Regions from separate parts of the Homo sapiens genome. Here all the other regions are linked to region 3. Evidence: promoter capture Hi-C in 16 types of primary human blood cells and fetal thymus (Javierre and others, 2016). All regions are on one chromosome and are shown on one strand. Each heading gives the region's core, a stretch centred on a gene start or on the middle of the fragment in contact. The rest is flanking DNA. Distances are from core to core; before and after follow the strand shown.

Evidence for each region. The method cuts DNA at HindIII sites, captures the fragments that hold promoters and counts their contacts. A CHiCAGO score of 5 or more calls a contact.
Region 1: a fragment that was not itself captured here is called in contact with the fragment with the promoter of RNPC3 in region 3 in 1 of 17 cell types (naive CD8 T cells); the score reaches 6.3 in naive CD8 T cells.
Region 2: a fragment that was not itself captured here is called in contact with the fragment with the promoter of RNPC3 in region 3 in 2 of 17 cell types (total B cells and fetal thymus); the score reaches 7.2 in total B cells.
Region 4: a contact is called between a fragment that was not itself captured here and the fragment with the promoter of RNPC3 in region 3, in 2 of 17 cell types (naive CD8 T cells and naive B cells). The highest score is 6.2, in naive CD8 T cells.
Region 5: a fragment that was not itself captured here is called in contact with the fragment with the promoter of RNPC3 in region 3 in 1 of 17 cell types (total B cells); the score reaches 5.7 in total B cells.

What each region holds. Positions count from the first base shown.
Region 1 is chr1:100,141,244-100,146,634 of GRCh38, forward strand. It overlaps TRMT13 (tRNA methyltransferase 13), which reads left to right. Exons shown (of 11, transcript NM_019083.3): 8 at 1,894-1,966; 9 at 2,826-2,900. Among named protein-coding and RNA genes, the nearest start is that of TRMT13, 11 kb to the left of the region's middle. The HindIII fragment of the contact is 4,562 bases long and covers 1,842-5,391 here.
Region 2 is chr1:100,359,529-100,365,479 of GRCh38, forward strand. All of the region lies in intron 2 of CDC14A (cell division cycle 14A), which reads left to right. Among named protein-coding and RNA genes, the nearest start is that of CDC14A, 10 kb to the left of the region's middle. The HindIII fragment of the contact is 1,995 bases long and covers 3,112-5,106 here.
Region 3 is chr1:103,522,690-103,528,565 of GRCh38, forward strand. RNPC3 (RNA binding region (RNP1, RRM) containing 3) reads left to right here and starts at 3,010. Exons shown (of 15, transcript NM_017619.4): 1 at 3,010-3,573; 2 at 5,006-5,053. The coding sequence starts at 3,382. It overlaps RNPC3-DT (RNPC3 divergent transcript), which reads right to left and starts at 2,819. Exons shown (of 4, transcript NR_168321.1): 1 at 2,707-2,819. It also overlaps the pseudogene RN7SKP285. RefSeq lists a silencer at 2,802-2,901 and an enhancer at 3,222-3,461. The HindIII fragment of the contact is 7,657 bases long and covers 1-5,876 here.
Region 4 is chr1:100,123,295-100,129,382 of GRCh38, forward strand. SASS6 (SAS-6 centriolar assembly protein) reads right to left here. Exons shown (of 17, transcript NM_194292.3): 2 at 2,588-2,648. Among named protein-coding and RNA genes, the nearest start is that of SASS6, 6.6 kb to the right of the region's middle. The HindIII fragment of the contact is 3,099 bases long and covers 1-2,800 here.
Region 5 is chr1:99,848,679-99,854,459 of GRCh38, forward strand. AGL (amylo-alpha-1,6-glucosidase and 4-alpha-glucanotransferase) reads left to right here and starts at 1,683. Exons shown (of 34, transcript NM_000642.3): 1 at 1,683-1,737; 2 at 2,297-2,446. The coding sequence starts at 2,365. RefSeq lists enhancers at 829-1,803, 1,004-1,153, 1,804-2,777 and a silencer at 1,334-1,653. The HindIII fragment of the contact is 819 bases long and covers 3,568-4,386 here.

The sequences.
Region 1 (5,391 bases), core at 2,873-5,372, 3.4 Mb before region 3:
AGAGACAGGAAAATATATAGAAAGAGCCAAGCTCAAGCTAGGAGTTAAAAGTCTTGGGCTCTACTCCTATCTTTGCCACTTGCCCTTCATTCATTAAACAATTTTTGAGCATACTGCCAGGCCCCACCCAGGCTGAAGTACAGTGGCAGGATCGTGGCTCACTGCAGCCTTGACCTCCTGGGCTCATATAATCCTCCCATTTCAGCCTCATGAGTAGCTGGGACTATAGTCCCACGCCACCATGCCCAGGTAATTTTTTAAAATTTTTTGTGGAGACAGGGTCTCACTTTGTCGCCCAGGCTGGTGTCGAACTCCTGAGCTTAAGCCATCCTCCCACCTTACCCTTCCAAAGTGCTGGAATTACAAGTGTGAGCCACTGTGCCCAGCCACTTTATTACTTATATTTAGAAAAGAGACCCAGGCAAATACATAAATGATTGTAGTGAAGTGTTAAAATACGAGAAAGGTCTGCACAGAGTACAGCATGGTTTCAAAGAAGGGAGTGACAAGTTCTATTGCAGGGAAGAGATGGAGAATGACTATGTAGAAAAGGTGATGCTTGAACTAAATCTTGAAAGGTGAATTGGTGTTTGTTAGAGAGTTTGAGAAGCATTCTAGGAAGCAAGAACAGTGTAACCAAATACCTGAAATAACAGGAAAATATGGAAACATTCCTGTATAATGGGAGTACATGGTGCAAAGTAGAGTTCAGCAATGATGGGACTGGAGAGGATGGCTAGCCTATAGAAGGTCTCATATTTTATGCTAAGGAAGGAGTTTGACTATGCTGCTGTCTGGTGGGGATACAATAGAAAAAAGATTTAGTTCTTGGCTTTGAGGAAGCTTACGTCTAGTGGAGTAGACATATAAATATTTGTGTTCAGTATGCTAAGTGTGTTTTGATAGTGGTAAGTACCCAATCCTATGGGAGCATGAAGATAGAGCACCAACCTCAGTCTAGTGTGGGTCATAGAAGTTTTTGCAGAAGTGACAGTTGAGATGAGATTGAAATAATATGTAAGAGTTGGTAAAGTAGAAGGAAATTTTTCAAAGTTTATCCTAGCAGCACCATTAAAACTATATTAGAAGAGTCTGATACTTAGAGAGATTAATAATAAAGATAATTTTTGTCCAACAATCCAAGTAAGAAAGAGGCCAGAGCTAAAGCTATTGCATTGGGATGGAGAGGAGGGCAAGAGTATGAGAAATATTAAGATGTTGGAAGCCACAAGAGTTGGTGATTTGTTAGTAATTGAATATGAGAGATAAGGAGTAATTCTCGGTAGGATTTTTATGGCTTAGGTGACTAAGTGGTGTTCTTTCCTGAGATAAGGAATGAAGGAGGCACAAGAGGAAGGATGGTTTTGGAGACAGAAATAATGAGTTCAGTTCTGAATGTGTCCAGTTTGCTGGTGAAGTAGAGCTTTCTAGTTCACAATTGAGTATGTGTCTGATGCCCATTGGAGAGGCCTGAGCCACAAATGTAGATCAGCCGGTCGTGGGCACATAGGTATAGATTAGAATGGTTGTGATCTTTCAGGAGAGCAAGAAGAGGAGCGAACCAAAAATAGTACACCAGGAGTGACAAAGATAAAGGAGCTAGTAGACAATCTTAGATAAATCACTTAAGATCTGTGAACTTCAGTTCCTTTGTCAGTGAATTGGGAATTTTTAGGGTTAAAGGAAATAATGTCTATGTAATAATTGATAAACATTTTCAAATCTTTTTTAAAAAGTGTGATATTTTGAAGTTCTCATCAAAGAATGTACAATCTTAATTTTTAAATATGTTCTGTTGCTCTGAATTTTGAAAACCAATAAAAATCTTTTTATTTTCATAAAGCTTTTTTAAATGTAAGAAGTGATTATTACAATAATGTTCTGTTTGTGCAGGTGGATGGAAAACACAGAAAGAAAAATTCAGTGTTTGAAAGACTTCAAATTGATATTCAACACTTGTGTTTGAGTAAGTTGTGTAACTTTCCATTGGTCTACAAATAAATCATAACTGTTTTAAACTCTGAGGTTGCTTAGAAATCCAATCATGCAGAACTGTGCTTCAGGGAAAACAGTCAAATCAATTCATTGTTAATATAGAATGTTTTATATAATGTTTTTAAATAGATGTAAATTGAATTAAGGTTGAGAATTTTAAAAATTTTCAGTATCAAGTGGAAATGAAGTGTTATATTAGGGAAGAGTTTAAAAGTTTTATAATATGTACTTCTGTTGTTTCTTTGTCCTGTTTAAATTAATTTTGAGTCTGTTCAAACTATAAACTAGCCTTCTGCCTGCAGTTAACGTGACTTTACCTAAACCATGAAAGAAAATGAGATATTTCTCTGCCTAGCTAATGTGTAAAAGATACTTCCTAGAATTTTAAATTGTACAAAAGAAGTCATCACTGTGGGATTCATATTCCATACACAAAACACACACAGACACATACACACACAAACTCCTCAATCAACCTCTGTAGTGCCCTTTTTATACCTTTTCTATTTTTCAGATTATCCAAAGAAAATAATGCAAACATATCTTTGCAACCTCTTCCATTCACCAATTTTAATCCAGCCATGAAAAGCAACCCAGCATTTGTATAGAAATCAATGTATTTAAAATTATTTAGCTGAATATATTAACTTTCTGATGTTATGAACCCTAAACAAGTTCTTATGTTATATGTTGGGTTCCATAAAGTGATAATTTTTGTTTGAGTCTCTTTCAGGCTAAAATTCAGAGACTCTAATTAGTTCTTTCTTTTGGAAGGCCACATTAATATGTACTTTATTTCACTAGACAGTTAATTCTCATTTCCATTTCAGACAAGATTCCTGTGCTAAGAGAAGAAAAACTACCTGTGGTAGGAATTGGAAAGCATCTGTGTGGTATGGCAACAGGTACGTAAACATACTGATAATGTTTACATTAATGCATTAAGTTTTGGCCTAACCTGGCCCCAACCATTTCAGTGGTCTCTTTTGAATAGATATCTTATGTTTACAACTCAATAATCTTTATAGAGCACTGGCCCTGTGCTTTATTAGATGCATAGCTTTCCTATTTATCTGCTCATATTGGCCATTTTGCAGGATGAATTAAGAGTTTTGTATGTAAATACTGCATCACATTAGACCTTAAAGTTCTTTGGGTTAAATTTCAACCAGAAAAGGAAAATAAGACCATTTATGGAAACTGTATGATTCCACCTAGAAGCTACTGATTTTTTAGAGTAGTTGCTTAGAAAGAACTCAGAAACCTCTTCTACTAAAAGACTATTGTGTTTCAGGATTCTGGGGAAAAAGAAAAAAATAAATGTTAGACAAAAAAAAAAAATCTAAGATGTCTTGTCTTAGCACTTTGATCCATCAGATCTAGCATGGTAAAGTGGAAACAGCATGTGCTTTAGAATCAGATAGTCTAGCCTTCAGCTTTGTTGTGTAACCTTGTCAAATTACTTAACCTTTCTGAGCTTTGGTTACCTCATCTATAAAACAGAGATACTAATATATTAATAATTTACCGGGTTGCATGTAAAGTGTCTGGCACATAATAGTGCTCAATAAATGTTAATTATTGTTACATCATCTTCCTAACTTTTGCTAGTTTCATCATCTACCCATATGGATTACTTGGAGCATCCATAGATATTATTCATATTGGCTGGAAATGGCATTGAGTACTATATATTTGTGTTGGCCTTCATAGTTTTTAAGACTATAGTCATGTACAACATAACGATGATTTGGTCAACAATGGACTCATATATGACAGTGGTCCTATAAAATTATACCATATTTTTACTGTACCTTTTTTGTATTTAGATACACAAATACCATTGTGTTACAGTTGCCTACAGTATTCAGTAACATGCTGTACAGGTTTGTAGCTTAGGAGCAATAGGCTGTGCCATACACCCTAGGTGTGTAGTAGGCTACACTACACCATCTAGGTTTGTGTAGTACACTCTGATGTTCCTACAATGATGAAATCGCCTAATGCATTTCCCAAAACATACACCAATAGTTAAGCAATGCATGACTGTACTTTTGCATACCTTATCTCATTTAAGCCTCATAAAAGTCTTCTAAAGTAAACCAGTTCCATCCCGGGGGTAGGAGGGAGTACACTCTTTTGACCTACAGTGGCCATTTCTCATGTTCCACATAATTTTTTCCCTTGATTCACTGTATCTGAATCCTCCTTTTGTCTCTGCTGCAGTTGCTTACCCTTTTTGAAATTCCATTTTCTTCTCTTTTGCGATACTCTTATTTCCTGGTTCTTCCCCTACATCTATGCCATTCTTCTGTTTATTTCACAGTCTCCTTCCACTTCTGTCCTTAAAATACTAATATTCAGGCCAGGCACAGTGGCTTATGCCTGGAAACCCAACACTGGAGGCTGAGGTGAGATGATTGCTTGAGGCTAGGAGTTCAGGATTAGCTTGGGCACATAGGAAGACCCCATCTCTACAGAAATTTGTTGGGCACGATAGCTTGTGCATGTAGTCCCAGCTATTCAGGAGGCTGAGGTGGGAGGATCACTTGAGCCTAAGAGTCTGAGTCTGCAGTCAACTGGGATAGCACCACTGCACTGCAGCCTGGGTGACAGAGCAAGACCCTATCTCAATCGGTCAATCAATCTCAGACCCATCTGCTACACAACTAATGTGTCTTTCCCTTTAAACTCTTCGGTACTTCCTGATATAGTCCAAACTCTTTGACATAACGTTTTAGTCTCAATCTGGCTTCAGCCTTCCTCTCTTTACATTCCCTGTCTCCTACTTTGCTGTTCAGCAACATCAAACCCTGTGTGCTTTTCCATAGACTGTACTATTTCTACTATATCTGGAATTTCACCCCCATTCACCTACTCACCCAAACAAAACAACTGGTCAATTTTTACTCATCCTTCACCTCAGTTGTCACCACTCTCAGGGAGCTCCCTTAAATAAGATATGCCTCCTTGGTGTTATCATAATACCCTCTGCATATTTTTACCTTGTGGTATTTTAATTATCTGTTTATATATCTAATTCTTCCACCATGCTCTGAATTTTTTGAGTATATGGTATATACTTAGTACGATGCTTGCTATATAACAGGAACACAGTGAATATTTGAATGAATGAATAATCTTGGCTACCAATTTGCTGTGTTTCCTTGTCCCTTTCTGCATATGTGGCTTTGTCTTTTAAGTTCTTTATAAAAGATGAATTGAGATAAATTGCTAAAGCTCCTTCTAATTCTGAAATAACTTAATTCTTTTTTTTTTTTCTTCGAGACGGAGTCTCGCTCTGTCGCCCAGACTGGAGTGCAGTGGCGCAATCTCGGCTCACTGCAACCTCCGCCTCCCGGCTTCAAGCGATTCTCCTGCCTCAGCCTCCCGAAT
Region 2 (5,951 bases), core at 2,859-5,358, 3.2 Mb before region 3:
GCACAAACTATGACCAGCTCCTATCTGGGAATGTGTGGTGGTAATTTAAACATTTTTCTTTGTAATTTCACTTTTGGGGGGTATAATTTTGCCTTTTTTTTCCTATCAGTGCACTACCAAAAAGAAAGAGAGGAAAGAAATTGAGTTAATTGTAGGACACGTGAAAACGAAAGAAGCCCAGTTTTTATAAGCCTATGATAACTGCTTTTGTAGGCTGTCTGGTGAAATGTTCTGGCTGCTTACCTGGTGTAACTTAAGGTGATTTTTTTTTTTAAGGTATTCTCCAAAAAAAACCCTCAGAAAACTGTTTACTTTCTAAAAGATGGTAGTTTATAGTTTCTTCCCCCCTTTTTCTTCTCTTCATCCAAACCTTGGAAAAGTAATATTGTTCAGGGCTGCTTTTTTTCACCTTCTTCTTTTTTTTTTTTTTTTTGAGTTGGAGTTTCCTTCTGTTGCCAGGCTGGAGTGCAGTGGTGCGATCTCAGCTCACTGTAACCTCCGCCTCCTGGGTTCAACCGATTCTCGTGCCTCAGCCTCCTGAGTAGCTGGGATTACAGGCGCGCACCACCACACCCAGCTATTTTTTTTTTTTTTTTTTGTATTTTTAGTAGAGACGAGGTTTCACCATGTTGGCCGGGTGGTCTTGATCTCCTGACCTCGTGATCTGCCTGCCTCGGCCTCCCAAAGTGCTAGGATTACAGGCATGAGCCACTGTGCCTAGCCTTTTTCACCTTCTGTTTTGAACACATGACAGCCAGTGTTATGATGTAGTATATGTTAAGAGGAAGTAGATATATCTGTGTACATTCATAGTTAGTTCTTTTTTTTTTTTTGAAACAGGGTCTTGCTCTGTCACCCAGACTGGAGTGCAGTGGGGCAATCTCGGCTCACTGCAACCTCCACCTCCGGGGTTCAAGCAATTCTCCCACCTCAGCCTCCCGAATAGCTGGGATTATGGGTGCATGCCACCATGCCTTGCTAATTTTTGTATTTTTTTGTAGAGACAGGGTTTCACCATGTTGACCAGGCTGGTCTCGAACTCCTGGCCTTAAGTGATCTGCCTGCCTCGGCCTCCCAAAGTGCTGGGATTACAGGTGTGAGCCACCGTGCCTGGCCCACAGTTCTTAATTCTGTAATCCAGGGGAATCAAATTTACCTTCTAGATAATGATTTATTTAAATATCTGCTGTTTTGACCTCTTAGGCATTCGGTGTAGAGTTGATCTCTAATCTTCATAATGATAAATTATTACTCTGTTTTTTCAGTTTGCTTGAGATAAGGCTGTGAAAACAAAAAATGTAGCCGAGGTGCTAAGGAGAGTTATCTTAACAGGGCTAGTCATAATCATGCAGCCTGAGAGAGAGCTCCAAGTGGGCTGCAGGAGATCCCAGTGGGGAGCTGTCAGCCTTCCAAGTTCTTTCTGTGCCAGGTCACCACAGGGCGGCTTCATTATTTTGTTTGAAGTAGATTCCTAAGACATCAGATGTTCTCATTTGTAAGTTCATAAACACATTCCCAAGCCAGAAGTAAATGACTTTTACTTAGCCACAGCTCAATACCCCTTTGTGCTTAAAAAAAAAAAAACAACAAAAAACAAAAAACAAAAAAACTAAAAACTAAAACACAAGCCTCACAAAACTCTTGACACATTTTTATGGGAAGTGAAAAGCATAACTTAAAACTTTCATAAGTGGTTGAAAATTGCTATACAAGAAACTTAGTATTTAGATGGGATAGATTTTGATGCAGAACACTGTACTAATGCTTTGGAGATATGTATTTGTAAAGAAGGAAGTAGAAACACATGCAGTACAGGATAATACATGACCAAAGCTGCAAATGTATGTGTTAGGAGTTCAAGAAAGGAAGAGATTATTGCTACCCAGGGTGATAAGCACTGAGCTAGTTTTTGAAGGGTGTATAATAGCAAAGAGTACATTTTATGATCTCTGTGAGGACCAGTACTACCTGTTTTTGCTCACCATTATGTCCCAACACCTAGCACTGTGCCTGGCATAGATATGGGGCTCAAGAAATTTTAGTTGAATGAATGAATGAGTGAGTAAGTGAATGAGGAAGAAAGGAAAGAAAAAGATTTCAGGCAGAGTCCTGAGAAAAGGCACAAGAGGTGTTTGGGAATAGCAAGATTCTGTTAGAGGAGGTGTAATAATATTTGAATGGAGAGGAGTCACAGGTCACAGCAGCAGTCACTTAGTTGGGGACTGGATTGTGGAAAACTGTTTGGATGTCAGTAAATTGTGCTTGCTTGTAAATGGCAGAGAGTGACCAGGGCTCTACTTTAGGACGAGTGCTGCCATCGCTCGAAGGTGGGGTCAGTTAGGCTATGGAAGAATTGGATTAGGGTTGCAGCAGTGGGGAAAGAAAGGCCAGATGGGGAGAGGCTGGAAAGAATTGGTTGACTGGATTTGGGACTGAGCAGATGCGGGTAGGGAGGAGGAAGCAAAGGTGAATTCAAAGTTTCTGGCTTGGGTGACTGGGAGAGAGGGACACCTTTAAGTAGGTGAGGTACGTAAATCAGAAGGAAACTGCCTTTTTGCTATTCTGTTTTGTTTTGAGGATTGGAGATAGGAAGTAAAAAGGGGGTCATTATAATGGAGTCTTTGTCTTTTGTGATCTTTAAGCGGAAAATAGACCGTGTCTGTCCTGGATATTTAAAATGTGGGGAGGTAAGTGGCACAACTGATCTCAAGTTCCTTTCTGGCTTTGTGATTTGAGCTGAATTTTTTATACTGAATTGTGAAATTCATTGTGTCTTAGAAATATTTTTTTTAATTTTTCAAAGAATATTGCTTTTCTACAATGAAGAAATTCAAACCTACAGTGCTATAAATTTTTAATTGGCATAATTTTGTATATGCAGTTTTAAATGCTGATTTTTTTAATCATACATGAGCATTGTAAACCAATGCCATTTTTCAAAATCACCATAAATGTCTCTATATTAATAATATTTCGGGGAAAGGATATACCATACTGTATTGAACATTTTTCTCTCTTTGGTCATTTTGGTTGTTTCCTATGTCTTGTCATTTTAAGTTGTTCCAATTCACATTACTGAAGCAAAGTAGAGCTGTGAATAATTCTTTTTAAAGCTTTAGTTTCAATTTACTTAAAAAATATATTGGTTTGTTTTAATCAACGAAATACTTCCAGGAGCACCAAAGAATTTTATGTGGATTGAGAGTCATCAAAAATATTGCTCTATTTATTAAAAATATGTAACATCCCCAGTTCTTGACAACTTGAAAATGAAGCAGCATTGTTGCCTGGGGTAAATACCCGGGGTTCTTCATCTCATCGAAGATTAACAATAGGTACACGTGAGTGGGTTAAGGAGCAGAGACTTTAATAGGCAGAAGAAAGGACAGAGGAGAGAGTAGCTCTCCCTCTCTTGTGAGACAGAGGAGTCCAAAGGGAAAAGCGGGCCTGCAGCTGACCGCAACAGGTTTTATAGTCTGGCTTGAGGAAGCGGTGTCTGATTTACATAGGGCCCGCAGATTGGTTCAACCAGGTGTGACGTTTACGTAGTGGGTGGGGAAGGCTGATCACCCCACCCTAATCTTATTATGCAAATGGACTTTCCACTCGGCCAGTGCCGTCTTGTCTGCTCCTCACTGTACATGTGGCTGGCAAAAAGAGAAGATGGAGCTGCCATTTTGAACATGCCTAGTCCCAGGTAGTAGTATTCCTACTGGCACAACTGCCGACATTCACCTGTGCAAGTTTCCAGCTTGCTTGTTTACGTGTGCAGCTCTCTTTTACAGGCTGCTGTTTGTTAAAAGAGAAAATGATTTTAGGGCTGCTTTTCATTAAAAGGAAACCCTTACCGAGGGCTCCCGAACCCTCAGTACCTGCCTAAGTAATTTCTTTTTAACTCGTATATCAAAAACATCTGGTAAATGATCACAATTATTTGTTGTTGACAGTGAATTCCTTTATAAGAAATAATTTGTGTAAACTATAAATTTGAATAAGATATTTCCTTTATTGTTAATTTAATTTTTTGGTCTTAAATATTTTCACATCCTAGTGACAAATTGAAGAATTTGCCAGTTTAGACTTCTCTTTTTTTTTTTTTATAAAATTTAATTTTCTTTTGAGAACTGGAAAAGGTAGTTTATTTCAAATTTGGTCCCCATGATTGATGTACTTTAGTAATGCATTTATTCAGTTTTGTGTATCTGGATATGTGGCATTTCAGTGAGACAGCTTCTACAGAGAATTGGAAAATTACATTCTGAAATATCAAAGTTTTATAATTTGAATAATTTACGGAAACCTTTCTAAAATGAATATACATTTCTGCCTTCTTAAAGAATTTACTGGCCAGGCATAGTGGCTCACGCTTCTAATTCCACGCTTTGGGAGGCCAAGGTGGGCAGATTGCTCGAGCAACATGCTGAAACCCTGTCTCTACAAAAAATACAAAAATTAGCCAGGCATGTTCCACATGGCTGTAGTCCTAGCTACTCTGGAGGCTGAGGTGGGAGGATCACTTGAGCTTAGGAGGTCGAGGCTTCAGTGAACCATGAGCATGCCACAGCACTCAGCCTAGGTGGCAGATCAAGACCCTGTCACAAAAAAAAAATTTATTGATCACAATTTACTTTTTTTCTGTCATACACAGACTTCATCATTATGGATGATCATCTTTTTTTTTTTTAATTTTTTATTTTTGAGATGGAGTCTCGCTCTGTTGCCAGGCTGGAGTGCAGTGGCCCGATGTCGGCTCACTGCAACCTCTGCCTCCCAGGTTCAAGCGATTCTCTTGCCTCAGACTCCCAAGTAGCTGGGACTACAGGTGCATGCCACCACACCCAGCTAATTTTTGTATTTTTTTTTTTAATAGAGACAGGGTTTCACCATGTTGGCCAGGATGGTCTCAATCTCTTGACCTCGTGATCCGCCCGCCTCGGCCTCCCAAAGTGCTGGGATTACAGGCGGAGCCGTTGCCCCCGGCCCTGTGATCCTCACCACAAATTTTAGAGTAATTATTTTCCTTTTGAGAGCCTCAGCCACTTTATGAAATCTGAGGGTTAGCCTTTTATGTATGGGGGAATCGCTCATCATTCTGTTTTCTAACAAAGCTTTGCATATACTGTCTGTATAGCTCTCCTGCCTTCAGTACTAGCCATTGAATAATGGAGTTAATTTACACTGCTTGAGAATATTTCTGTGGGAGTGAATTTTAATTTTCCCAGTGCATTCCTGAAGAAGTCTCCTTTTGTTTTCGTTAATCTGAGTCTCTAAGGGAGTTTTTATTAACTGACCTTCTCTAACGAGGGATGTTAGAATTACAGACCCTGATACTGGAAGGTTTCTTGATACCATCTGGTCTGTTGTTTGGCTTTAAGGCAAAGTGAAAGCACTCACTTATTTTACAGAAACAGCAGCTGACACCTGACCTGACCAGTATTTACCTCGGGTTAAGAAGGTAATAAGTGGAGAATGGTTCCTCACCCTCTGGTGTTGTAAACCTGAACTTTCTTAGAAATCTAGACAATGCATCAAGGGACAGGATTGATAGTTGATATTGGGGTTCTCTCCTTCCTTTATGATCTCAACAAATGTCAGACTTTTTGCAGACAAGTAAGTAATAAAGATGATAAGTTTCCTAATACATGTAGCTGCTTTGTAGTCTGTGGGTTTGCTTTCTGGCTGTGCAGAAAACAGTGAATTTCATGGAAAAAGTTGTGTTCTTTTCCTTCCTCAAAGAGGAGACACTCTGAGGGAAATGTTTTCTGTACCCAGACCCAATGCACTGAGAGGACAGACAGAACAGAGAACATCAAATAGGGCAAGTAGACCTTGAGAAACATTTGAACAGTTGAATGGGTTTGTCCAATAAGGATAACTAGAGTCATAGACTCTGTAGAGTCTATATAGCGGCTAGAACTGTGATATATGATATTACATAAGAGCTGGAAAGA
Region 3 (5,876 bases), core at 1,760-4,259:
TCACAGTTCTCAAACTGTGCTAAGGTGCCCCAGGTACCCTTGCCACCTTATAGAGGTACTATAGGATATTTTAAATATTTGAGGGAAACATAGCAATACTCACTGTTTACCAGACACTACCTGAACTACCAGCTTGAGATGTTTCTCAATTTGAACATTAGATACTGTTTAATTCCTTTTAAGAATGTCATATATTTGAAAAGCTGGGTTTTTGGCTGTTGCTCTCATATAAAACAAGTGCTTCCTGGAAAACCAGAGTGGAATAGGAAATAAGGTGGCATCAAGGGGTGCTAGAAAAAACTGCTGGGACAATAAAGCTACCAATAACTGAAAAAGTTTGGCAACTTCTGGGCTAGACAAAGAGGAGGGAATGAGAAAGGTACTTCTCAGATACGACCACACATACCTACACTCAGACACAGAAAAGATTAGAGTGTATTACATATTCCTGCAATCCTTTAGGTCAAGCCTGATATGAGGGGAGTGTAAGAAGAGACACCTTAATGGAGTTTGGACTTGACATCTCTAACCAACTGTACTGATAGCAACTGAAAGTGACTAGAAAATTATGACCTCTACCTGAGATATTGTCAAGGAAAGGATAAGGTAGATTTCATTGAGTACAACTAAAAGCAATTAAGTAGAGAGAAAATAAAATTCTGTCATGTAACTATTCCACTCAGTCATGATACCTGAATTACAGTAGATAATGACCATTAAACTCTGCCTGATAGCCCCTGTAGTAATTCCTAACCGTAGGAGGCAGTGGTAAATATAAAAGTGAATTCCTTCATGCATTCATTCATTGAATAGATATTTACAGAATGTGCACTATGTCTGGAACATTTTACTAAACATAAGAGTCACAGGGAGGATGTGACGGTCATTTTGCATGACACCTGTCACCAACTGATCCCAACAGTTGATTTGGCTGATCTGGCTAACTAGCTGGGTTCCCCTTCCTTCCTAACTGCCCCATATATGTCTCTTCCAAAGCTGCCCACTCGGCTGAGGAGGATGACTTACCCCCATAAAGGAGGATGATTTTTCTGTAAGGGCATACGTGTAGCAGTGCTCCCTTGCTAGAAGCTCCAAACAAGTCTTCAAAGAACACACACAAAAAAGCCGCTGAAGGATAGTGTTTAAAATAGCATGACCACTCCAATCGGTTTATAACACTACCCTATTTTTTCCAAAGCACTTATTATTCTCTGAAAAGAACTTTATTTACATATTTATTCTGTCTTGATTTTAGAAAGTAAGCATTGAGAGGGCAGGAATTGATTGTCTTCTTCTTCTTCCTTGCCTCAACTTCTCAACATCTGCATGTCCCATGACTCCATTATGGGCACAATTCTATCTATACCCTTTGTCATTCTTCAGATATAAATACCATATAGGTTGATGCCATACCTCGTGGTAACCTTTCCCAAGAATGCCAAACACACACATTCAACTTCCTACTTGAAACAGGGATACTGAATAGATACCTTAAACTTAATATATGTTCCTCTATTCCCAATGTCCCACTACAGTTTCTAACCTAGCTATACTTGGTCAATCTTCTCACATTCAGTAAATGGCATCATCATCTACAGATGGATAATATCTAGCTTAAGCCAAAAATCCAGAATTTATCCTTGCTTACTATTCTTCATCTGCAAGTTCCTATCAACTACTTCTAAAACGTATCTCAATTCCAGTTCCTTCTCTACATGTCCACTTTCACCAAACTATTATGGTAGTGTTTTTCTCCAGACTTCTACAGTAGTCCAACTGGTCTTTCTGCTTCTGTTTTTTGCATTGCAACCGGAGAAATTTTCATACCTAAACTTTGATTCTCTCCCCTCAACACACACCTACTTAAAGAATTTGTCAGTTTCTAAATGTTCCTCAAATAAAAAGGGCTCCTAACAAATCTACAGCGTCTACGTGGTCTGGCTCTACCTATCTGATATTTTGGTGGGTGTGTGGGGAAGGTTCTTCTCATGTTTGTCTTCTAGTTTTCATTAATATCTGTCTCTCTCCTTTTCCCCAACCAATGCGGGATGACAGCAGATTGCTGGTATACTGCTTACTGCTGTATCTCTAACATTTATTTAAGTGGCAAAAAGAACTGTAAGAGGAACTCTGGTTCTCCAGACTGTAGCAGCTACATCTAGCATAAAACCTCTCTTTAGAATCCTCAAGGCCCTCTCTGTATGGGGTGAGGGGTACATTCCTGACCCTCCGGGGATGATCCCTGCCTCACTCCATTCAGAATCTAGGCAGAACAGTGGATTAGAATGTAGACCCCCAGTCAGAACACCAAGGGTCAAAACTTAGTTCTTCCACTTTCTAGCTGTGTGATTTAACCTCTTTGTACATCAGTGTCCTCAGCTGTAAAATAGGGAGAAAAGTACCTACACCTACACACACACACACATACACACACACACACACACACACCCCTACACACACACACATACACACACATGCAATAATTTATTTATTAGGTTACCTCTCCCTAGAGGCTGCCATTTCTGCGAAATGAACCCTGGCAGGGGCCTATCCGTCTGCTAAATGCCTACTGATTCAAGAAAAAAGTCTGAACTCTCAACGTTTTGCCCCTTAAACTGAGTTCTCCTCCCTACAATGGTGTCTAATGAGTTGACAGAATAACTGGCTAGCTTTATATTTTACCATCTAAATACTGTAAGAACATACCCGGTATTTCCACACCCAAGTTCTCCTCCTTGCTATTCAGGCCAATTCACTTTCCCAAGGCCAGGGATTAAGAGCCGCACGGTCAGCTCCAGATAGCGCTCGCCGCCGTGCGCCCCGCCCCGCCGTGCGCCCCGCCCCGCCGTGCGCCCCGCCCCGCCGTGCGCCCCGCCCCGCCGTGCGCCCCGCCCCGCCGTGCGCCCCGCCCCGCCGTGCGCCCCGCCCCGCCGTGCGCCCCGCCCCGCCGTGCGCCCCGCCCCGCCGTGCGCCCCGCCCCGCCCTGTGACGGTCCCAGCCCGCACATGCGCAGTCGTGAGTCCTCTTGTCCTTGAGCGTCAACCTTCTTTCCCTGAAGTGGCTGGGGTTCCTGTTTCCTTCTTTGATTGACAACTTGTGTTAACCCTCGCACATCTCTGGGCCAATTTTTGCTTGTAAGTCTTTCCGGAGACCCCTGGAATTTAAATCATTAGCACCGCGCCCTTCCCCGAAGAGTCTTCGAAGGGTTGCCGCTTTTCGGTGGCGCAGTTCTCGCGAGAAGGTGACTTTCTTTCTCGGTATTTCCTGGTTTCCAGAATCCTTAGCGCGAGGCGGAAAAAATATTTCTCCCAGCTTGTGTTGATGCCGCGATTTTGACTGAGACTTCTTCCCACGATTTCTGTTTTTGCTTCTCCAAGGAAAATGGCAGCTCCCGAGCAGCCGCTTGCGATATCAAGGGGATGCACGAGCTCCTCCTCGCTTTCCCCGCCTCGGGGCGACCGAACCCTTCTGGTCAGGCACCTGCCGGCTGAGCTTACTGCTGAGGAGAAAGAGGACTTGCTGAAGTACTTCGGGGCTCAGTCTGTGCGGGTCCTGTCAGATAAGGGGCGACTGGTAAGGGCGCGCCCCTCCGGAGTCTCCCGGGAAGGCATTTGGGAAGTGACCGGGGAGGGGGAGCGCTGACAAGAGTAAAATGGAAACGAGTGGGGAAGATGGACTTGTGTGATGAGAGCTCCCCCATCCTACCTCTTTTTTATCAAAATATCTGCTCTGCGAAGTGGAGTTTTAATCGGCTCGAGTCTGGATTAGTCATAGCACTGCAGAAAAGGGCAAGTGAGAACGACAAAGCAGAAGAATGGAAATTAGCTTAGTTATATTGAGTTTTCGGATCCATCCTGAGAGCCTCACAACTTTTTTGAATTTGGGGTTATTTCTCCTGGACTCAAGAGTATTCTTACAAATGTGCATCAAGGGATTTTTTAAAGTCCTACTTCATTTATAAGCCAATGTTAAATCGTTCATTAAAATAGAGGAGAAGCTACATTGGTGACTTGCGTAAATTAAATGCAGAATTTCAACTAGAAAAAGAGGCTTTTCATAAAAATTTCCCGATGACATCTTTTAGGGAACAATTTTTTAGGGCTGTTAAGAGTACCTGTGTAGGAATTTACACAATTACTTTGTTTTGCTTTATATCCAAAGATATTTTAGATTTCTCTTCATTAAAATAGGAATAGCGATGGTGCAAGACTCAGTGGTTTTAAAGTTTCCCTAGGTGATTTTAATGTTAATGTGCAGCCCAAGTTGAGAGTTACTGAATTAGAAGAAAGACCAATTTTGATCAGTTTAAATGTCACTTATGCCTGCAAATTAAAAAAAAAAAATTATATATGGCTCAATTTAAGTACATCAGGTCATCGTGTATCAGATTAGACAAAATTAGAATGTGCGATATAATTATTAAAGTAACTTTTAATAAGCATTGACCAGAGCTCTTCCTTAGCATAGTGATTCTTTTACTGTTGATTTGTGTTTCTTTTCTGATGGTTTTTAAAATCCGTATAATTTATGTTTAAAAATAGACTTCTCCCATTGAACATTATTACAAAGATAAAGCACAAAGGAAATATGCACCTTGAAGAACGATTTCTCTGTTGGTGAATGTTTTTAAACTACGCATTGTTATGTATAGAGGAAAGTTTAAAATCTTTAGATCTGTCATAAATGAAGGAAATAAATTTTTAGTTGGTTAAAAGTGACCCTCTGTGTAGAACAGGTCTTTAAACTTTTGGTCTTTTGAACTATTTGCATGTGTAAAACGTGTGTCTTTATATGATAGAGGTTGCATAGCTTTCATCTCAAGTCTGACTCAAAAAGTATTGAAAACCACTGGACTGAAATTAGTAATCAGTTAAATGGTCTTGAGTTTTCATCCTTTCCCGTGATTTTATTAACATGTCACATTACTCCACTGGTAAAAAGTCAGATTTCTTTGTGAGAAACTGAAATTATATTGGAAGTAATTTGTACCTTAACTCTGTTTCAGAAACATACAGCTTTTGCCACATTCCCTAATGAAAAAGCAGCTATAAAGGTATGACTTTTTCTTGACGATTAAAGTTGTCAACAGGATCCTCTTATACAATCTTGGTTCAGATAATGTTTAACTGTGGTTTTTAAGAAGCAAAAGCGTTTGTATTCCAACAGTTTCCCCAACAGACTACATTTGATTTGTCAGTTGGCAGATCTTGCCCAGTCCTTTAGTAGATTATCTATAAAGAAAAACTAACTGCGTATGTAATTAAAATAACAATTTCTAAATGATTTAGATTGATAAATATCTCTGTGACTGTTACAAGGTAAGATGTTTCAAGTGTTAAAAGGAGAATATACATTTCTTTATAATGCCAGGGAATCATTCACAGGAGGTGATCTTTTAGCTAGAAGTCTAATGATTAATTGGATTTTTTCAGAAGGAAACAAGTGGAGATGGGCCTTCTGGGCTTGCAGAACACCAAATAAAGCTGTGAGACATTGGAAGTTATAAGTGGAGCAGGAGCTAAGGGTTGAGATGGAAATGGAACTTGAAAAATAGATTTGAGTCTGGGAGAGAGGTATTGAGTTTGGTTTAGTAGGTGGACACTTGATACTTTTGAGCTGGCTCATAATATGATCAGGCCTGTTAAAGATATCTGGTATAGTTCATATCATGGATTGGATGTGCAGAATTATTAGAGGTAGGAGACCAAATGGAAGGCTGTTATAATGGCCAAGGCAAGAATAACTATCTGAAGAAGACAGTAAGAAGACAAAGGGGGAAGTAAATATATATTCAATAGAGATTGAGTTTGTAGGTTTTATAATATAGGGGTTGAGAGAGAATAGTTCAGGATATTTAGATTGAGGATTGAGTTATT
Region 4 (6,088 bases), core at 1-2,500, 3.4 Mb before region 3:
AGAAAGTTTGTTGTTTTTAAATGTTTTTACTAGATCTGGCCTTTTGAGTAATTTCTTCTCAGAAGTAAAGAAATCCAACAACATCAGTGTATCATAGTTATATTGCAGACAGCTTTGTTTTCTAGTGCTGCTGGTTTTTTATTAGTCTTTAGAGAGTTAGAATCTTAAATAGGGGTAGACATTCCGCTCTTTAAAAGCCACATGGAGGTCTGTAAAAGTTAAGCAAGTGCTAGGAGTTGAAAGTTTAGGAATATCCTCCTATCAGAGGCTTGGGGAAATTTAGACCCAGTCCTTGCTACACCATAACATGATGAAAATTTTCTTTACCACTGAACATACCACATTCAATTTTATTTTTAGTTTCCTTAAAGTTAACTGGTATGGCATTTCAAAAGTGGCAAATATATCAGCAGAACTGACAATAATCCACACTAGAAAAAAGAGCTTCTGTCTCTCAGAAGACCAGGGTATCAGGTAACACGTTGCCAGGCTTCTTCCAAAGAGCCTATTCTCTCCTAGGCCAGGTGGCCACTGATATGGAAGCCCAACTGTTTTCAGTCTCAAATGAAGTAAGTACCTTTCATAAAGATCACTTTCCAGGTAGCTACGTGTACATAGTGTGGGAGACCATCATAACAGCTAGAGCTCACAAAAAGTACACCAAAATTATGTACCAGAGAACACTGGTGAAAGAAAAACAGCATTAGTTACAAGATGATGTAAAACTAATAAAGAACTGGGCATTAAGGTTAAGAATTCATTTGAAATAAAATCTCTACTCATGTCTACTGAGGAAATGCTAAGATCCTAGAAAAATCTAAACCACTTATGCACCAAGCTAGAAAATGAAGAGGTACAGCAGGCATAAGGAATAACATGTAAGAAGTATAATATATCATCTCTACTCTGGAAAATTAGTAATTTAGGCACCTGCTCTGCCTCAGAATGCCTTGTTCTTAAGCAGCTTCTATTTAAGTACTTCCTGAAATTCACCCAGGATGCTACTTAAAAAACCAAAGGTACTATTAATACTACTAGGTCCTTGAATGTGTTCAGGGAAAGCTATGGCACACAGAAAACAGATGCTATATTTCAGTGTTTTTTGACATGGGGTCTCGCTCTGTCGCCCAGTCTAGGTTGCAGTGGCACCCTCACAGCTCACTGCAGCCTCAACCTCCCAGTCTCAAGTGATCCTTCCACCTCAGCCTCTCAAGTAGATGGAACTACAGGAGTGTGCCACCACATTCAGCTAATTTGTGTATTTTTTTGTAGAGATGGGATTTCACCATGTTGCCTACACTGGTTTCAAACTCCTGGCTCAAGCAATCTGCCTACTTCAGCCTCCCAAAGTGCTGGGATTACAGGTGTGAGGCACTGCCCTTGGCACAGATGCCGTATTTCTTAGTTCTCTGTTCCAGTGGCCCCCAACCTTTTTGGCACTAGAAACCAGTTTTGTAGAAGACATTTTTCCAAGAATTAGGGAGTGAAGGATGGTTTCAGGATGAAACTTCCACCTCAGATCAGCCATTAGATTCTCATAAGGAGCATACAGCTGAGATCCCTTGCATGTACAGTTCACAATAGGGTTTGCACTCCTATGAGACTCTAATGCCACCACTGATCTGACAGGAGGTGGATCGTAGGAGGTTACACTCGCTTCCCTGCCTGCCACTCACCTCCTGCTGTGCAGCCTGGCTCCTAACAGGCCACAGACCGTACCAGTAAGTGGCCAGGGGGTTGGGGACCCCTCCTCTATTCTATATCCTTAGTTCTGTTAATGACTCACACTTTTGAAGGTTATATGAGACTGATACTCTAAATGCCTCTCTTCAAAACGTAAAGTAAAAGATTCACAAATATCTCCCTGCAGTACTTCGGTTTATTGTTTTTACATTTATACCATGAAATGCCAATTCTACAAGGCAGCAGTGTGTGTGTGTGTGTGTGTGTGTGTGTGTGTATGACCAACAGCAATAAAATATATTTTTATATATATGTTATTATATATATATAATATGCAACTTCTAAGTGCACTGGGCAAATCTAAGGAGAATGTCACCCCACCCCACAATTTTTCACGTATGTTTTAGAAATATATGGTATAGGCCGGGCACAGTGGTTCAAGCCTGTAATCTCAGCACTTTGGGAGGCCGAGGTGGGCAGATCACAAGGTCAAGAGATCGAGACCATCCTGGCCAACATGGTGAAACCCCGTCTCTACTAAAAATACAAAAATTAGCTGGGCGTGGTGGTGCATGCCTGTAGTCCCAGCTACTTGGGAGGCTGAGGCAGGAGAATTGTTTGAACCCGGGAGGTGAGTGAGCCGAGATCGTGCCACTGCACTCCAGCCTGGTGACAGAGCAAGACTCCATCTCAAAAAAAAAAAAAAAAAAAAGAAATATATAGTATAATTATCCTTCAGTTGTTGTCTCAGTAGATTCCACCACCCTTGATTTCCAACAGTTGCAAAATAGCCTAAAATGTAAAAGCAAAATAAATGCAATAAAAGATGTCACATTCTTAAAGAACAAAACTAATTGTCTACAATGTACCGAAATGATATTTCAAAAAAGGACTAAATACCAACCTTTCTGTGAACTGGATTAGAAACTGATTGTAGTTCAATGCTCATTCTTATACTTACTCTCCTGTAGGAAAAGACATACCCAACCATCAGAAACATTCACACGAAATGAGTTATCACTATCATTTGTATTAAGTTTTCAGTCTTAAGTGACAAGACTTTCCACAGGTGTTCTCTAACTTATGAACAGAAGTTTGAAAAGCACACCGGATTTGAAGCTTAATTTCTTCTTGTTCCACTAGTGAGTAATCTAGCAGTGTTTAACCTAAAACTAAATTTTTCTCACCTGTAAAATGGGGATATCGTGAGGATTAAATGAAATAAACACTGTGGAGTGCCTAGCACTAGCCTGATATATGACTTTGCGGCCCTGATTGTAAAGTAACATCTATTGAAAGACAAACCATCAATTTAGTAACTTTTCAACTGTAAAATGGGGATGTTTTGAGGATTAAATGAGGTAAGAACCTCATATACCCTTACTGCCCTGATTCTAAAATAACATCTAGAAAGACAAACCACCAATTTAGTAACAACTTTTCACATTAAAAAATTACCATGTCATGTAATCAAACTGATTAATGAGAGACTGATTGCATTTTAAAAACTTAGTATGTGGCCCGTCGCAGTGGCTCACACCTGTAATCCTGGCACTTTGGGTGGCTGAAGCAGGCAGATCACTTGAGGTCAAGAGTTGGAGACCAGCCTGTTAACACGGCAAAACCTCATCTCTACAAAAAATACAAAAACAAGCCAGGCGTGGTGGCACCCACCTGTAGTCCCAGCTATTTGGGAGGCTGAGGTTGGAGAAATGCGGAACCTGGTAGGCAGAGGCTGCAGTGAGCCAATACTGCACCACTGCACACCAGCCTGGGCAACAGAGACCCTGTCTCAAAAAATAAAATAAAATAAAATAAAAACTTAATATGTGAAGCGATATTAGAATGCTTTGAATGTTTAAAATCAAGGAAATAACATATTCCCTACATTTATTCATACAAAAACGTATTTTCACATCCACGAATTAAATCTGCTTAATATATTCTTTATGTAATAAAACCACAGAAGTATTATCAACAAGTTTATTACACCTATTTTATCCTTGAGTAAAGTAACTTTAAGCCCTGAGAGGGAGAGACCACAGTGTTCCACATCCTATGCTGTATCTTAGAGAATCCAGAATTGGACAGAGGTATATAGGTGAAAGTGCTCATAAACATTAATCAAATAGAGCACAAATGCTTATATAATTCAGAAAATAAAGGGAGAAATTAGTAAAAAATACCTATGCACAAGTACTTCTCAAACTATTCTGCCAGAATTAAATAACAATGGCCTTTCTTTGATGTGCAGGTAGAAAAAAGTAAACTAACAAATAGAATTTGTTCAATTTTAAGTTTTTCTTCTAAGGACTTCTTTTAAACCTTTTCCACACTATTGCTTATCTACTACACAAGTAAAAAGTATAAACAGCAATTGAGTACTGATAGGAAAACTTGGAAACAGTTGATCAAGGCTAGATTCAATTGTTTAGATTTTTTAATGCTGACTTGTAATTTTATATGGGTTTAAAATGTGTCATTTTAGTTAAGTTTCTTGTTGAACATATGATTGGATGCTAAATCTCCGTTTGTACAATAAGGTTAAATGTTACCTCATAACTTGTATCTGTTTTCTGAAAAGGAACAAGAAGCACTGGTTTACACCAGAGAGAGGAAGAATTATTTTCAAAACAAGAGAATACACTGTTGCTATTTTTCTAGTATCTAAAGCAACATATGTGAAACAGATTAGAGTGTTACTCCAATTCCATTTAAGCTTTCCTGAGCTGGGCACAGTGCCTCCCACCTGTAGTGCTGGCTACTTCAGAGGCTGAGGCAGGAGGATAGCTTGAGCCCAGGGGTTCAAGTCCAGTCTGGGCAACACAGCAAGATTAAGCTTTCGTGGTGGGGTGGGGGAGGGGGGGACTCAGTTTCCGAACTTGTAAGATAAGTGGATTCAACTAGAAGGTTTGTGAAAACCTTTTTAGCTCTACATCATTATGTTTGGTTTTCATCTTCTGAAGTTTTCTCTAGTATAAATGCCATAGTGGTATGATACTGCAGTTGGTATTTAACTTTTTATGGTGCTTTACAGTTTATTTTTATTTTAATTATTTATTTATTTATTTATTTTTGAGACAGAGTTTCGCTCTGTCACCCAGTCTGGAGTGCAATGGTGCGATCTTGGCTCACTGCAACCTCCGCCTCCCAGGTTCAAACGATTCTCCTGCCTCAGTCTCCTGAGTAGCTGAGTTTACAGGGGCACAACACCACACCTGGCTAATTTTCGTATTTTTAGTAGAGATGGGGTTTCACCATGTTGGCCAGACTGGTCTCAAACTCCTGACCTCAAGTGATCTGCCCACCTCAGCCTCCCAAAGTGATAGCAGTACAGGCGTGGGCCACTGCACCTAGACGGTGTTTTACGGTTTTAAAAGTCCTGTCATACTTCATATATTTGCAAAAAGTACAAGAAGAATTCACTTATCAAAGTGTTCTTTACATAATCCTGGAAGAGTTATATTACTATGACAATTTACCAATCATATTAATGATATTGTTGCATATATTCCAAATGCCTATATACATTAGATGTTGAAAGAAAAAACGGAAGGCCTGTAAGTTAAACGAATTCCCCATGCTTAGTTAAAAAACATCCCTAGAAATATGCTGTAGAAAAATACAAGCTTTCAGAGGATACGCTAACTAAAATCACAAATCTTATTTTTTCCCTTATAATGGTTAATGTCATAAGAGCAATATAAAACAATAAAAACTCAATAAAATGTTATTTCTCATCTCAATAGATGTCGTACTCAATAGATGTCTAATACTAATGACATTAGATTTAGTTATGAGTTCTTCTAAATAAAAAGTATTCTAAACATCAGGCTTGCTTTAGCACAACTGGATTCTAGGCCATCTCTGACACCCAGTAGCTGTGCTCTTAAACTATCAATCAAACAAATAAAAGGTACTTTAAGCCAGGTATTGTGCCAGGTGCTAGGGATACAAACAGAAATAAACATGGTCCAGGGGCTTGGCACAGTGGCTCACATCTGTAATCCCAGCACTTTGGGAGGCTGAGGTGGGTGGATCACCTGAGGCCAAGAGTTCAAGACCAGCATGGGCAACATAGCAAAATCCTATCTCTACAAAAAATTTATAAAATGAGCCAGGCATGGTGGTGCATGCCTGTAGTTTCATGTACTCTGGAAGCTGAAGCAGGAGAGCTTAAGACCAAGAGTTTGAGATTACAGTAAGCCATGATTATGACACAACACTCTAGCCTGGGCAACAGAGTGACAGCCTCTCTCTAAAAAAAAAAAAATAATAATTTTTGAACATAGGATGACACAAACAAAACAAAACAAAAAAAACCATGGTCTCTGTCCTCAAATTGAGATGAGATTAATGACTTTTTGCTAGATTTGCTTCTGATTGCATTTTAGGGCTCCATGAG
Region 5 (5,781 bases), core at 2,727-5,226, 3.7 Mb before region 3:
CCAAGTCCTTGCAATGGCCTACAAAGCCTTAAAAGATCTGGTCACCCGTCTGTGCTCCTGATCCCTTCTCCTGCCCCATCTGTCTGTCCTAATCTCTTACCACTCTCTTCTTCACTCAGCTATGGTGATCTTCTTCGGTTCACCAAGTATGCTCCTGCCTCATGGCCTTTGTACTTCCTATACCTCTACATGTAACCCTCTACCTTAGACTTCTTCTTTCTCGCAGTTTGGCATCACTTTACTGAACGTTATATTTAGAAATGCAAACCTCTCTCTGCTTACTCTTCCACACTTCCCCCTTCCTATTATATATAGGATATAACATATCCTTCTTATTATATAGGATATATTATATCCTGTATAATTTATTTAATTTATCTGTCTCCCACCAATAAAATGTAGGAGTTCCTTGAGGGCAGTGACTGTTTTATTGCTGCATTCCCAGCACCTTATGTGCCTGGCAAATAGTAGGGGCCAGAAAATGAGCTGTGGGTTCCCAAAGTCAGTTACGGACCATTTGCAACTAGCCATTCTCAGAAATCTACAGAAATAAACAAATACTTCAGTATGGGGTTTTTTTTTTTAACTTATATCCTCTTTGGACCTACAGTCATTCCACAATAAAGAATGCAAGAATCTTCTCCACACGCCACAAGTCTTAGTTAACCAAATCTTCTGTCCATTTTCTCATAACCATTAGGAGCCCTCCAAAAGCCCTGGAAGATGGGTTTTCCTTTACCCTCAGGCATTAAATCTCCTTAAGCATCTGCAAAAAGTTCTGAGTTACTGGCCTAACATAAGTGCAGCTTAATCTCAGACGATCTCCGGGTCTATCTAGTGTACATGAGGTACACCCGGACACCGTTAAGTATCAGTGGTGTTTGCACTCTCGATGGTTTGCAGACTGGCCACACCTTACCTACTGGGTCTGCATTCAGGAACATGTGTCCTGTCTGTTAGCACTAGAAGTGATGGACACGTGTTGGCTGGAATGTCAAGGCTGTAGCCAGGCCCCTTATTTTAGACACTTAGAAATCAGGACTCTGAGAACTTAGGCCAAGTAAAAATTATCAAAACAAAGAAACAAAACACGTGGTGGCACAAAAGACACCAGAAGCCAGGTCGTTTGCCCCTCACCATTCAGCCCTTCCCAGCAAAAGATCCTACTGTGCAGCTCAACCTAGCTCGCAGCCGGTACCGCGGGATTTTAATGTGCAACTGTGAGCTCGCAGGCTGTTAAAGGAAGGCCGCGCCTTGGCCGGTGCACCTTCCCCAGGGCAAGGAGAAAGCGCCGCTCCCGGCCTCAGCCGCAGCAGGCTCCAGGTCCCCCGGCCCGGAGCCGACTGAGACGGTGCGGTGCCCACGCTCTCGCGAGACTAGCGGTCGGGGCGGGCGGGTCGAGCCTCCCGGAAGTGGGCCAGAGGTACGGTCCGCTCCCACCTGGGGCGAGTGCGCGCACGGCCAGGTTGGGTACCGGGTGCGCCCAGGAACCCGCGCGAGGCGAAGTCGCTGAGACTCTGCCTGCTTCTCACCCAGCTGCCTCGGCGCTGCCCCGGTCGCTCGCCGCCCCTCCCTTTGCCCTTCACGGCGCCCGGCCCTCCTTGGGCTGCGGCTTCTGTGCGAGGCTGGGCAGCCAGCCCTTCCCCTTCTGTTTCTCCCCGTCCCCTCCCCCCGACCGTAGCACCAGAGTCGCGGGTCCTGCAGTGCCCCAGAAGCCGCACGTATAACTCCCTCGGCGTAAGTGCTAGGAATGCCGCTGGCCTCGCGGGGAAACGCATTCTTTCTATCTATAGCTCGCTCTGTACATCTTCTGTCTACGGCAGCTATTCCAGAGGCAACAACTGCTTCCCTCTGTTCTCATCTCCCCATTGGTGGCTGGCGACCCGAATTTGGGAATGGGGAGATTGCCCACCTGTTATCTTTGAGCAGACTAATCTCTTGTAAGCAGAAGTGCCATTCGGAGTCTCCAGAGCCCTGTGGCTTGGGGCTGGGAATGTCCCCCTGACTTCAGGCTTTCCTAAGTGTATTGCTTTTCTCTGAGAATGGTCTAGGTTTTTAATTTTTTAATTGTAAGAATCTGTAATACAGCATTTTTATTTCGGTCTTATTCGTTGTGCTCAAAGGCAGGAAACAACTATTAATTTGCCTTCTCGAATCTTAATAGTTATAAGATTCATTCTCTTTCATTGCTCTGCTAGGCATAAAACACACTTCGAACATGTAAGTGCCGCTGTCAGCTCTGGAGAGTTTAAGGCAATAGTTATTTTCGATATTTTAACTCCTTTTTGTTTCATAGGGGTAACTCATTCGACTGTGGAGTTCTTTTAATTCTTATGAAAGATTTCAAATCCTCTAGAAGCCAAAATGGGACACAGTAAACAGATTCGAATTTTACTTCTGAACGAAATGGAGAAACTGGAAAAGACCCTCTTCAGACTTGAACAAGGTCAGTAGCAAGTTGTTTTGATTTGCTCATTTGCGTCTTTTAAACTTTTAATTCATTGGCAGTCCTGTTAAATGTTTTAAAGCTCTAAGATAAATATTATTTCCAAGGGTCTAAAACTTGATTTGTGCAAAGATGGTGCTGTGTTCTCCATATATCACTAATTAATGTTGATTTGAATTAAAAATATTTTATATCCCTCGTGTTAGGATAAGGATAAAATAGTTCTCTTTTCTCTGCGTACTAATTCCCACTTAAGATTGAAGTTAAATATATGATCAGAAGATTGCCCATATTATTTCTAATAACATTTACTATTAAAACTTGGTAAATTACTTCATATGTAATTTTGCTTTGGGTATGCATGTAGTTTTGCCTTTGTATAACTGTCTCTTTTCCTTTGTTGAACCTTTGAATTGACAAAATAGATTGCAGCAAAAAGTATAGTAAACTATTGTTTATGTATATCAAAAACTTCTCAAATGTGGAGTAGGTAAAAGCTGAAAATATTTTCTTAGCAAATAAAAAGTGCAATAACTCATCTGGTTATGTTGAACTATATATAGTTGATCTGTATTTAAAAGATCAAATTACTTTTCTACAAGGCTAGTTAATAGATGTTTTATTTTCTTAGCCTTTGTAATTTTTCAACATTGAAGAAGTGTAATATATGAAAAATCCAGTCCCCCTTATTAATGTACCAAATGGATGTTGCTAGTCATAAACATTTCAAAGGAATTTTTAAATTTCGCTAATGTTTTAAGAATTAAATTTTTGAAAAAAATTTCACACATACAATGTGATATCTTCATGCCAAATCCGCGCCTTTTTCCAACTTTGGCATTTAAAATCACTGAGTACCTACTCCATTTTTGGCTTTCCTGACTCTGCACTTTTCTGGTTTTGATTTTTTTTTCCCCCTCCCCTGTTGCATATTCTTGTCAACTTGGTGTCTCTTACTAGGCTCTCTTCCTTTCACTTTTTAATTAATTATGGGTATCTGCTAGGAATTCTTTTTCTGTTCTCCTTCAAAGAATTAGTTACACAGTCTCATGGCCTCAACTGTTGCCTCTGTGCTAATGACTACTTTTGGAGGAAAAGCCTTGAGCTTTCTTCTTCTTGGAAGCTTTCAGCATTTGATGACGGGTAGATCTAGAGCCAGAATTCTCCTGGCTCTGCTGCTAACAAGCTGACTTGGGGCAAGTTACATTAATTCTGAGCATTCATTTCTTTTTTTTTTTTTTTTTTTTTCCTTTTCTCTTTTTCTGAGACAGGGTCTTACTCTGTTGCCCAAGCTGAGTGTTGTGGCATGATCATGGCTCAGTGCTGCCTCAACTTCCTGGGCTCAAGCAGTTCTCCTGCCTCAGCCTCCCAAGTAGCTGGGACTGCAGGCATACATCACTATGCCCCGCTAATTTTTTTTTTTTTTTTTTTTGTAGAAACTGGGTCTCACTATGTTGCCCAGGTTGATATTGAACTCCTGGACTCAAGCAACCCTCCCTCTTTGGCCTCTGAAAGTACTGGGATTACAAGCATAAGCCACCGGGCATGGCCCCAATTCTGAGCATTAATTTATTTATTGGTGAGATGAAAGTGGTAATTTCTGTTCTTCTACCTTTCTAGGTTTTGAGACTCAAAATTAATAATACATGAATTTTTTGTGATAAAGCCCTAAATAAATATAAGGCATTGATATGAATCACTCCATGTATTCCCACCCTGGACCTTGGCTTCAACCTGATATTATGCAATAGAATAGTATTAGGATAGCTCAACTTGGATATGCTTAAATCTAGCATGTCCAAAAATATCCCCTGCCCATTCTCGATCCTTTATTTCTCAGCTTCCCTGTTTATTTCGTGGCATCTCCATTTTTATAGTTCCCAGGGTAGAAACCTTATATTCTTTGATGATTTCTTCTCTTTTCCTGCAGTCTCTTTTTAAGCTTGCAGTTTCTTTCCAAATATCTCTGATTGCCTGTCTATTCTGTATGGCTGAATATAGATGCCAGAATAATCTTATGCAGTCTCTTCCCTTTGTTATTAAGTGGTATGTATAAAATCAAATTTAAATACCTCTGTCTGACTTCTAAGACATTCTGTAATGAGACTACACCTTCCTTAGCCAAGATTGTATCTCATTCTCCATCATTAATGTCATAGATCTTTACAGTTGCCCAAGTCATTCCTGTTAATTCCCTTCTCAGCAGGTTTTCTCATGCCTGTCCTTATACCCGTACTCCCATCAGATTCCTTTATATCTGTTAAATCTCATTTACTGTCAGTCTATGTGTTGCCTAAGTTTCAACTTTCAGCTAGAATATCACCTCCTTTGTGAAGTCTTTCCCTAATTTTTCACTGTCTGCTTCCTTTGATTTCCAATTACACAATGAGCACAGAACTATTAAGTGCTGAATAATGAAGCAGTGTCTAAAGGCTTGTTAGTCTTACAGTGTCAGACTAGGGTTTAAAATCTGTGAGAATTGATGAGGGCAGGTGACTCACACTTGTAATCTCAGTGCTTTGGGAGGCTGAGGCTGGAGGACCACTTGAGGCCAGGAGTTCATGGTCAGCCTGGACAACATAGTAAGACTTTATCTCCACAAAAAAGAAACAAAATTAGCTGGGCATGATGGTGCTTGCCTGTGGTCCCCAGCTACCTAGGAGGTTGAGGCTGGAGGATCTCTTGAGCCCAGGAGTTAAAGGCTGTAGTGAGCTATGATCCCACCATTGCACTCCAGCCTGGGTGACAGAGTGAGACCCTGTCTTTAAAAAACAAAAATAAAGGGCCGGGCGCAGTGGCTCACACCTATAATCCCAGCACTTTGGGAGGCCGAGGCATGTGGGTCACCCCAGGTCAGGATTTTGAGACCATCCAGCCTGATCAACATGGTGAAACCCCTTCTCTACTAAAAATACAAAAATTAGCCAGGCGTGGTGGCGCATGCCTATAATCCCAGCTACCTGGGAGGCTGAGGCAGGAGAATCGCTTGAACCTGGGATGCAGAGGTTGCAGTGAGCTGAGATCACACCATTGCACTCCAGCCTGGGCAACAAGAGCAAAACTCTATCTTAAAAAAAAATAAAAAATAAAATAAAATCTGTGAGGATAGGGACAGCCTTACAAACTTAGTGCAGTGTACTGCTGATTGATTACTAGAACTCTAGTTAAAACTAGCAAAAATTGTAAAAGCTAACCTATTTGAAGAGGGAAATTGAAGGATTTATGAAAAAAGAATGATGTGGTTGACTTTATAACTCTGGTTAAAACCGGTAAATGTATCCAAATGTTATAAATGAGAATGTGCCACCTTTTTTTGCAGTAATGGTGTGATCATT